3 separate regions of the Homo sapiens genome follow, and regions 1 and 3 are each linked to region 2. The links are contacts of gene promoters, found by promoter capture Hi-C in blood cells and fetal thymus (Javierre and others, 2016). All regions are on one chromosome and are shown on one strand. Each heading gives the region's core, a stretch centred on a gene start or on the middle of the fragment in contact. The rest is flanking DNA. Distances are from core to core; before and after follow the strand shown. Region 1 has its middle 3.7 kb from the start of SLC25A33. Region 2 holds the start of H6PD (hexose-6-phosphate dehydrogenase/glucose 1-dehydrogenase). Region 3 overlaps TMEM201 (transmembrane protein 201).

Evidence for each region. Contacts are between HindIII fragments. The CHiCAGO score rates a contact against its expected background, and 5 or more counts as called.
Region 1: a contact is called between a fragment that was not itself captured here and the fragment with the promoter of H6PD in region 2, in 1 of 17 cell types (fetal thymus). The highest score is 7.2, in fetal thymus.
Region 3: a contact is called between a fragment that was not itself captured here and the fragment with the promoter of H6PD in region 2, in 1 of 17 cell types (fetal thymus). The highest score is 6.3, in fetal thymus.

The regions. Positions count from the first base shown.
Region 1 is chr1:9,534,380-9,537,079 of GRCh38, reverse strand. No RefSeq gene overlaps it. Among named protein-coding and RNA genes, the nearest start is that of SLC25A33, 3.7 kb to the left of the region's middle. The HindIII fragment of the contact is 4,795 bases long and covers 1-2,700 here.
Region 2 is chr1:9,233,359-9,236,058 of GRCh38, reverse strand. H6PD (hexose-6-phosphate dehydrogenase/glucose 1-dehydrogenase) reads right to left here and starts at 1,285. Exons shown (of 5, transcript NM_004285.4): 1 at 993-1,285. RefSeq lists a silencer at 873-1,432. The HindIII fragment of the contact is 5,189 bases long and covers 1-1,850 here.
Region 3 is chr1:9,592,495-9,595,194 of GRCh38, reverse strand. All of the region lies in intron 1 of TMEM201 (transmembrane protein 201), which reads right to left. Among named protein-coding and RNA genes, the nearest start is that of TMEM201, 4.9 kb to the right of the region's middle. RefSeq lists enhancers at 590-1,186, 990-1,284, 1,187-1,784 and a silencer at 990-1,284. The HindIII fragment of the contact is 5,102 bases long and covers 1-2,700 here.

The DNA of each region.
Region 1 (2,700 bases), core at 11-2,510, 300 kb before region 2:
CCTCCCGAGTAGCTGGGATTACAGGCGCCCGCAACCATGCCTGGTTAATTTTTGTATTTTTAGTAGAGACAGGGTTTCACTATGTTGGCCAGGCTGGGCTCGAACTCCTGACCTCAGGTGATCCGCCCGCCTTGGCCTCCCAAAGTGCTGAGATTACAGGTGTGAGCCACCACGCCTGGCTTGAACCTGCTATTTTCCCTGACTAGGATGGCCCCCTTCCTAGACTTCTAGAGCTCCTCTGACACCAGCTCAGGCATTGGCCATGGCCATGTACTGGGTATACAACAGAGATTCCAATAGATAAAAACCTTTAATGAAACATTGGCAATCAAATCCAGCAATATAGAAAAAGGATAATACATCAGGACGAAATGAGAGATGCCCAGGAATTAGAGATTGGTTTAACATTCAAAAAATCAATCCATATAATTCAGCATATTAAGAGAATAACAGGGACACATGTTCCCAGGACCTCCTGGGGCTGTGTCAACAGCAAAAAAAAAAAAAAAAAAAAAAAAAGGAAAAAAAGAAAAAAAAAACAGTGAAAGAGAAAGAGAGAATAATGGAAAAAAACCTGATGACCATGTAAATTGATGCAGAAAAGCATTTGAAAAAACTGAACACCTATTCATGAAAAAAAGCTCTCAGCAAACAAGGAACAGGAGGGAATTCCTCTATCTGATATAAAGCGTCTACCCCAAACCTATAGCTAACATCACACACAACATTAAATAACTGACCACCTGCCCCTAAGATTGGCAATAAGCAAAGATATTTGCCGTTACCACTTACTCAATGTTGTGCTAGAGGCCCTAGTCAGTGCAGTAAGGCAAGAAAAAAAAATGTGTAAAGATCATAAAGAAGTGAAACTGTCTTCAGTCATAGATGATGTAACTGTTTACTAGAAAATTCTAAGTAATCTATATAACAACTACTAGAACTAATTAGTGAATTTAGCAAGATCACAGGAAATAAGGTCAATATACAAAAAAAAAGGTTTTGCTAGCAGCAATTTTAATATAAAAATTTTAAAAATTATTTTTAGGCCAGGCGCGGTGGCTCACGCCAGTAATCCCAGCACTTTGAGAGGCTGAGGCAGGCAGATCACCTGAGGTCAGGAGTTTGAGACCAGCCTGGCCCATAAGCTGCTACTAAAAATACAAAAATTAACTTCGGCATGGTGGTGGGCGGCTGTAATCCCACCTGCTTGGGAGGCTGAGGCAGGAGAATGGCTTGAACCCAAGAGGTGGGAGTTGTGGTGAGCTGAGAACATGCCATTGCACTCCAGCCTGGGTGACAAGAGTGAAACTCCGTGTCAAAAAAGAAAAAAATTATTTTTACAGGCTGGGTGTGGTGGCTCACCTCTGTAATCTCATCACTTTGGGAGGCCACGGTGGGAGGATCATTTCGGCTCTAGACTAACCTGGGCAACATAGCAAGACCCCATCTCTATTTTATTTTATTTATTTTTATTTATTTTTTTAGATGAAGTCTCACTCTGTCACCCAGGCTGGAGTGCAGTGGCATGATCTCAGCTCACTGCAACCTCCACCTCCTGGGTTCAAGCAATTCTCCTGCCTCTGCCTCACGAGTAGCTGGATTACAGGCACGTGCCACCATGCCTGGCTAATTTTTCTGTATTTTTAGTAGAGACAGGGTTTCACCATGTTGGCCAGGCTGGTCTTGAACTCCTGGCCTCAAGTGATCTGCCTGCCTCAGCCTCCCAAAATGTTGACATTACAGACGTGAGGCACCACACCCGGCACCCAACTCTATTTTAATATTAAAAAATTTTTAAATTATTTTTACATCCCTTCTCGGCCTTTTGGCTAAGATCAAGTGTAAAACGATTTTTATAGCTGGGTGTGATGGCACACACCTGTGGTCCTGGCTACTTGAGAGGCTGAGGCAGAAGGATGGCTTAAGCCCTGACGCTGGGCGTGGTGGTTCACGCCTATAATTCTAACACTTTGAGAGGCTGAAGATTGCTTGAACCTGGGATTTCGAAACCAGCCTGGCAACACAGATGGACCCTCACTCTATAAAAAATTTTAAAAATAAGCTGCGTATGGTAGTGTGTGCTTGTAATCGCAGCTACTCTGGAGGCTGAGGTGGGAGAATCTTTTGAGCCTGGGAGGTTGAGGCTGTTGTAAGCCGTGATCGCACCACTGCACTCCAGCCTGGGAGACAGAGAGTGACTCCATCTCAAAAAATAATAATAAAATAAATAATAAGAGCAAAGAAAGAAACCAGACATAAAAAGTATATGATTTCATTTACATGAAATTCTAAAAAAGGTAAAACTAATCTTTAGTGACTGAGAACAGATGAGTGGATGGATGCTGGGGGCCGGGGATAGGAGAGGACTGACTGCAAAGAGGCTGGAAAAAACTTCTTAGGGGTGACAAAAATGTTTCATACCCTGATCAGGGCATATACATACAATGAGAATCTTTGTTTTTGAGACATAGTTTTGCTCTTGTTGCCCAGGCTGGAGTGCAATGGTACCATCTCGGCTCACTGCAACCTCCGCCTCCCGTGTTCAAGCAATTCTCCTGCCTCAGCCTCCTGAGTAGCTGGGATTACAGGTGTCCGCTACCATGCCCAGCTAATTTTTTGTATTTTTAGTAGAGATGGGATTTCATCATTTTGGCCAGGCTGGTCTCGAGCTCCTGACCTCAGGTGATCCACCGCCTCAGT
Region 2 (2,700 bases), core at 36-2,535:
GAGATCGCGCCATTGCACTCCAGCTTGGGCAACAACTAACCATCAACCACAGAAAAATGCCAAGGAAAAACTCAGACAGCTTTTCATGATCTTCCAATCATAATGATGAAAAATTAAAGGGATATGATGCATAATTTAAAATACGCTGTCTGGGCGTGGTGCTTCACACCTGTAATCCCAACACTTCGTAAGGCTTAAGCAGGAGGATCGCTTGAGCCCAGGAGTTCGAGACCAGCCAGGGCAACATAGTGAGACCACTGTCTCTACAAAAGGTTTAAAAATTAGCCAGGCGTGGTGGTGTGCGCCTGTGGTCCCAGCTACCCCGGAGGCTGAGGCAGGACGATGGCCTGAGCCCAAGAGGTGGAGGCTGCAGGGAACCGTGTTTGTGCCACTGTACTCCAGCCTGGGCAACCAAGCAAGACCCCATCTTTTATAAGTAAAAGATTTTTTACTTTTATATAAAAAAGTAAAAAGATAAAATAAAAAATATGCCCATTTGACACCAGTTTTCCCTCATCTGCTGCCTTTCATGAGCCATGGGCCTGTTGTGGGTGCAGGGGGAGTGGGCAAGGACACTTCTTTCCAGAAGTTCTCACTTCTGGCTAAGCATTCAAGGTTGGGTGAGCTGATTTTCAGAGATCCAGAGAGGTTTGCCCCTGGAAAACCGTTCACTAGATCCGGGTACGGGAAACGCTATGTGAAACCCGAGGGCCAATCAATGCCAAAGATTAAGCAGGTCCCGGGGGAAATCTCGGAGTTCCCCCTCTCCTGGAACTCAGTTCCGGGAAGCCCAGGGAAAGGACAGCTCGGCCGCTCGGGGCGACCCTGGAGGGAGCCTGGCCGCCTCCTGAGCAGTTCCAAAGCCGCCAGCCCCAGGCTCCGTGGGGCTGGCAGCGCAGGCTCCGGGGCTCGGCGCGGCCTCGGGCCCGGCGGCAGCGCGGGTTGGAGGCGCCGGGGCCGGGGCGGCGGCGGGGCCGGCGGGGGGCGCTTACTTCCTCTCGCGCGGCGGCGCAGGCCGCTCCTCCGGGACACGGCCGGGGCGGCGCTGAGGGCCGGGCCCGCTCCCGAGGGCTCCCCTGCGCCCTGGGCCGCACCTCCTCTTCCGCAGGGCCCGTCACTCCGACAAGTGCGCGTGTCACGCGGCCACGCGCCGCACGACACTCCGATACCGCCCGCGGAGCCCGCGGCGGCCGCAGGGGAAGGCGCGAGGCCAAGGCCAGCCCGGCCGCCACCCCGCCCCAGGCCTCAGGCCTCAGGCCTCCACCGCCTTGCGCTCAGCAAGACTGGGGCCCGGGCCGGGGGCGCGCGCGGCGGGGGCGCGCGCGGCGGGGGCGGGGGCGGGGCGGGGGCGCCGGCGAGGCCACGCCCTCCGCTGGCGGCCGCCGGGGCGGGGCCTCGGAGCTTCCGGGGCGAGGCGGTGGGTCAGCTCCGAGCCTCCGCCCCCGCCCTTCCCTTCGGCCCCCTGGTGGCCGTGCGTCCTAGAGCTGTCCTGCCGCGTCCGAGACGCGCGCGGGACCCAGAAGTGGCCGAGGGACGTGGTTGTGTCGTGGAGGGGACCCGGGGTGCTGGCTGCTCCCTACGATCTGGCACCCGCTCTGGGACTCCTCAGGCCTCGCTTTTCCCCATCTGTAGAATGAGCGGCTCGGTCTTTCCCGTCTTCAATATCCAGAGTAGGGATTTAGAAGTCGGAGCGCACACGCTGGCCACGCCTCCGCGCACAGCTTCAGATCTCTGCCACCCCTTATCACTTGTGTGACCCTGAGTTCAGTTTCTTCATCTGTACAGTGGGGACAATGGGAGTACCTGCCTCCGGGGTTGTCTGGCACTTGGGTGCTTAGTAAGCGGAAGCTTGGACCCGTGTGGCAAATAGAAGACTTTTGCTAAGACATTGCTAAGAAAGACAGCAAATGGAATCAGGGCTTCTCTGTAGGGTGAGAGGTATTTAAGTGAGAAAACGGGATCAGCTGCCTCTCAGAGCACTCAGTCCCCTTCCTGTCCCCCACCATTATCAGGCAGTAGGTGGCCCTCACCATGCTCCCCAACCTGCTCCCCACTTTTTCTTTTTTCTTTCTTTTCTTTTCTTTTTTTCTTTTTTTTTTTTTTTTTTTTTTTTGAGACAGGGTCTCGCTCTGTCACCCATGCTGGAGTGCAGTGGCGCTATCACAGCTCACTGCAGCCTCCGCCTCCCAGGCTCAAGTGATCCTCCCGCCTCAGCCTCCCAAGTAACTGGGATCACAGATGTTCGCCACCACTCCTGACTAATTTTTCAACTTTTTGTAGAGACGGGGTCTCACTTTGTTGCCCAGGCTGGTCTCGAACTCCTGGGCCCAAGTGATTCTCCCACGTTGGCCTCCCAAAGTGCTGGGAGGAGATTCTGACCTGAGAGAGAAACTGTGCTGCAGCTTTTTATTTCCCGATGGTTCCATTAGAGGTGGGAGCGTCTGGAACTAGCAGTGGCAACTTGGCAGTGGCCGGCAGGACTGAATGGGGCCAACAGGCATGATTACCACACAGGATGTTAGGCAAGGGGTTCCGGGAAGGCTGGGAACTGAGGGGAGCTGGGCCTCACCGTCACCAAGGCCAGAGGCCATCCGGGCGCCCGCAGAGGGCTGCCAAGCCTCGGCAAGGATTTAGGTCACACTGAGTGGGCCTGGCAGAGGGGGGAGCCAGGGAGCCAGGCACTCTCTGGGCTACCTCCAC
Region 3 (2,700 bases), core at 114-2,613, 360 kb before region 2:
GCCCCCCTCTACCCACCTCATTGGTTGTGGGACACTGGGGGACTGGGGAGGGGTGGGCAGAGAGACCGCCACTGCCCAAAAAAGCCCCCCAGTTCCGGAAATCCAGGAACAATGTGGGTGACAGGCAGCAGCTGTGGGAGCCCTGGGGCCCCGGCTTTGCTGCTCCGACTCTCCACCTCTCCCCCAGGGGCCACCTCCAGCTCGAGGACACCGCTTGAGCCCCTGCCAGAGTGGGCAGCCACTCCCTGCACAGACGGCCCCCCGTCCACAGGACCAGAGAGCACGGCCCTCTGGCCTTTCATCCTGAGGCGCTGCTCAGAGAAAGGAGGACGGAGCCCCAGGAAGTTCCTGTACTCTCAGCCTCAGTGTCCACATCTGTGAAGTGGGGGCAACCACAGCACCCCCGGCTTCTGCATGCTGCAAGGACGCAGTGACACAAGACAGAAAGGTGCTGTGCTCTGCAAAGAGCCAGCTCTGTCGCTAACCCATCGGGCTGGCCAGGGGCCTGAGGGGGAGGCTGGGCCCTGGGAAGCAGGGCTCCCGCTTCTGACACTACTGCTGCTGCCCGGCCCTCCCCTCCACCCCCTTCTCCTGACCAGGGGCATATGAAGGGAGATGTGTGATCACCTGTCAGCTGGGGACAAAAGCACCTCCCTCACAAGGGACTGCTCGTGGGACGCACTTAACAGTGACTGGCCTAGAGTATGTACGCAAAAAAGCCAAGTTACATGGAGTGGGGGGAGGCTTGGGAGAGAAGGGGAGATGGGACCAGGCCCTGCGGGGAAGGCCCAGGGCCCACAGGGGCAGCTGGGATCTCCCCCAGCAGCCTCGGCCCACACCCTTCTCACCCCACACCCCCTGCCCCAGCACAGGCCCAAGCCCTCACAGAGGACAAGGACCGCTGCATCTTGTCAACAGCATGGAGACAGCGGGCAAGGCCTGCAGACCAGCGACGAAACGGAGCCAGCCAGCTGGGCAGGCAGTATGGCAACAGGCATGGCCTTGGAGAGCAGCTCTGCCTTCTAGGGCCGCAGTCTCATCCCTCACCTGTCAAAAGGGGCTGCTGAGCATCCCTGCCCCAGGAGAGGCCACTGTGAGGATCCTACAGGAGAATGCAGGGAGGCGCTCAGTGCTCGGCATTAGGACAGCGCCACCGGGCGCCGACTACATGAACAGCCAGGGAAGGAGACTCGCTCTGGGGCATGTGGAGACCTGCTCTGCTGCGGTGCCCGCATCTAGCACTCCCGGGCAACTAAGCACGTGGACTTCCCTGTGCTAATTACTAGCTGTTGTACAGGCTTCTTTGTAACTGTGCATGGGGGCGTGTCCTGATGGGTGAAGACCTGCTTGTGTGACCCCCCACCCCTGAGCCGGACAAGGCTCTGCACCCAACTGACTTTGGGTGACAGGCTTCCTATCCCCACGGAAGGCCCCTCAGCTCTCTTACCCTGTTTGAAAAGGAAGGTCAACCCTTGAGCCTGCCTAGGGGACCAATGACAGCTGAGCAGGGGCTGTGGCTTCTGTCCAGGGTGCCTGCCATGAAGCCCCGCCCACCCCAGGAAGTCATGTTTCCATTCTGAATCTCCTGCTCTGTTGCTAGGGAAATGGCTCCACTGATCTAGAATGAGGCGGCCCGGAAGAGGGGGGAGGCAAGGGATTAGCCCTTGTCCCTGGGGCCAGCAGCTCTAACTCCTGTCACTCTCAGCCCTGGGTAATCCCTGCTAGAGTTGGGGGTGGGCTCTCTGGTGGCCAGAGCAGCTGCCACCCACTTTGGCCAGGCGGGCCCTACCTGCCAGGGGGTCCTCTCCCACAGTGCCTTTGGGGGTGAGCCCTGAAAGGTCCCAAGAGGCAGGTAGGCCAGGGGTCGATGGGGAGCTGGGCATGAATTGCAGGTCCCCCAGGCACCAGCACGGCGGCGTCAGACACATGACCACATGTGAAACACTGTCCACAGCTCGGACGAGGTCCCCACGCAGGTGGGGGAAGTCCTGGCCCCTAGCCTATGCTTGCCTCTGCCCGGCCTGTTGAGGCAGCATCTGGGTCAATCTCTTCTGAGCCAGCCTAGGCTGGACCCTGTTTTTGCTCTGGGAGAAGCCCCCAAGTTTCCCTGATAAACCCCTCAGCCCACTTCTCTTCTGCAAGCCAACAACCTCCGTCCTTAACTTGACTCTGGGACAAACCACAGTTGGTGGGCAAGGTTTGAGGTAACGTGACAGAATGTCCCTGCAACACAAGCAAGAGAGGAGCTCGGGCCTGGAGGGGCTGCCCCTGCCCACAACGGTTCCAGCTCTGGGGGGACAGCAGCTGGCCCTATGGGTCCCATTTGATGGGTGGACACGAGGGCCTGGAGGCCACTATCTCGGCTCCTGCTAGCTCGATGCCGAGCCCCTGGGAAGCCTGAGGAAGCCCGGAGGGAGATGGGTCCCTAAGAAAAAGCTAGGGCAGCTGCATGCTCTGTACCTGCCCCGTCCACAAGCCCAACATACACACTGAGGGAAAACAAGACGGGCACGTGTCCTTAATGATGACACCACTCCAGAGCCCTGAGCACGGACATGTATTGAAACAAAGCTCCTGCGGGATGCCTCACTATTCCCTGCAGGTGGGAGGGGCTCTGTTCTAGGTGCGAGCCCAGCGCTGGGTCCTCAGCCTAGGAAAGCACCAGGTAGGGGGAACCTGCTAGAGGGGGCACTGGATGGG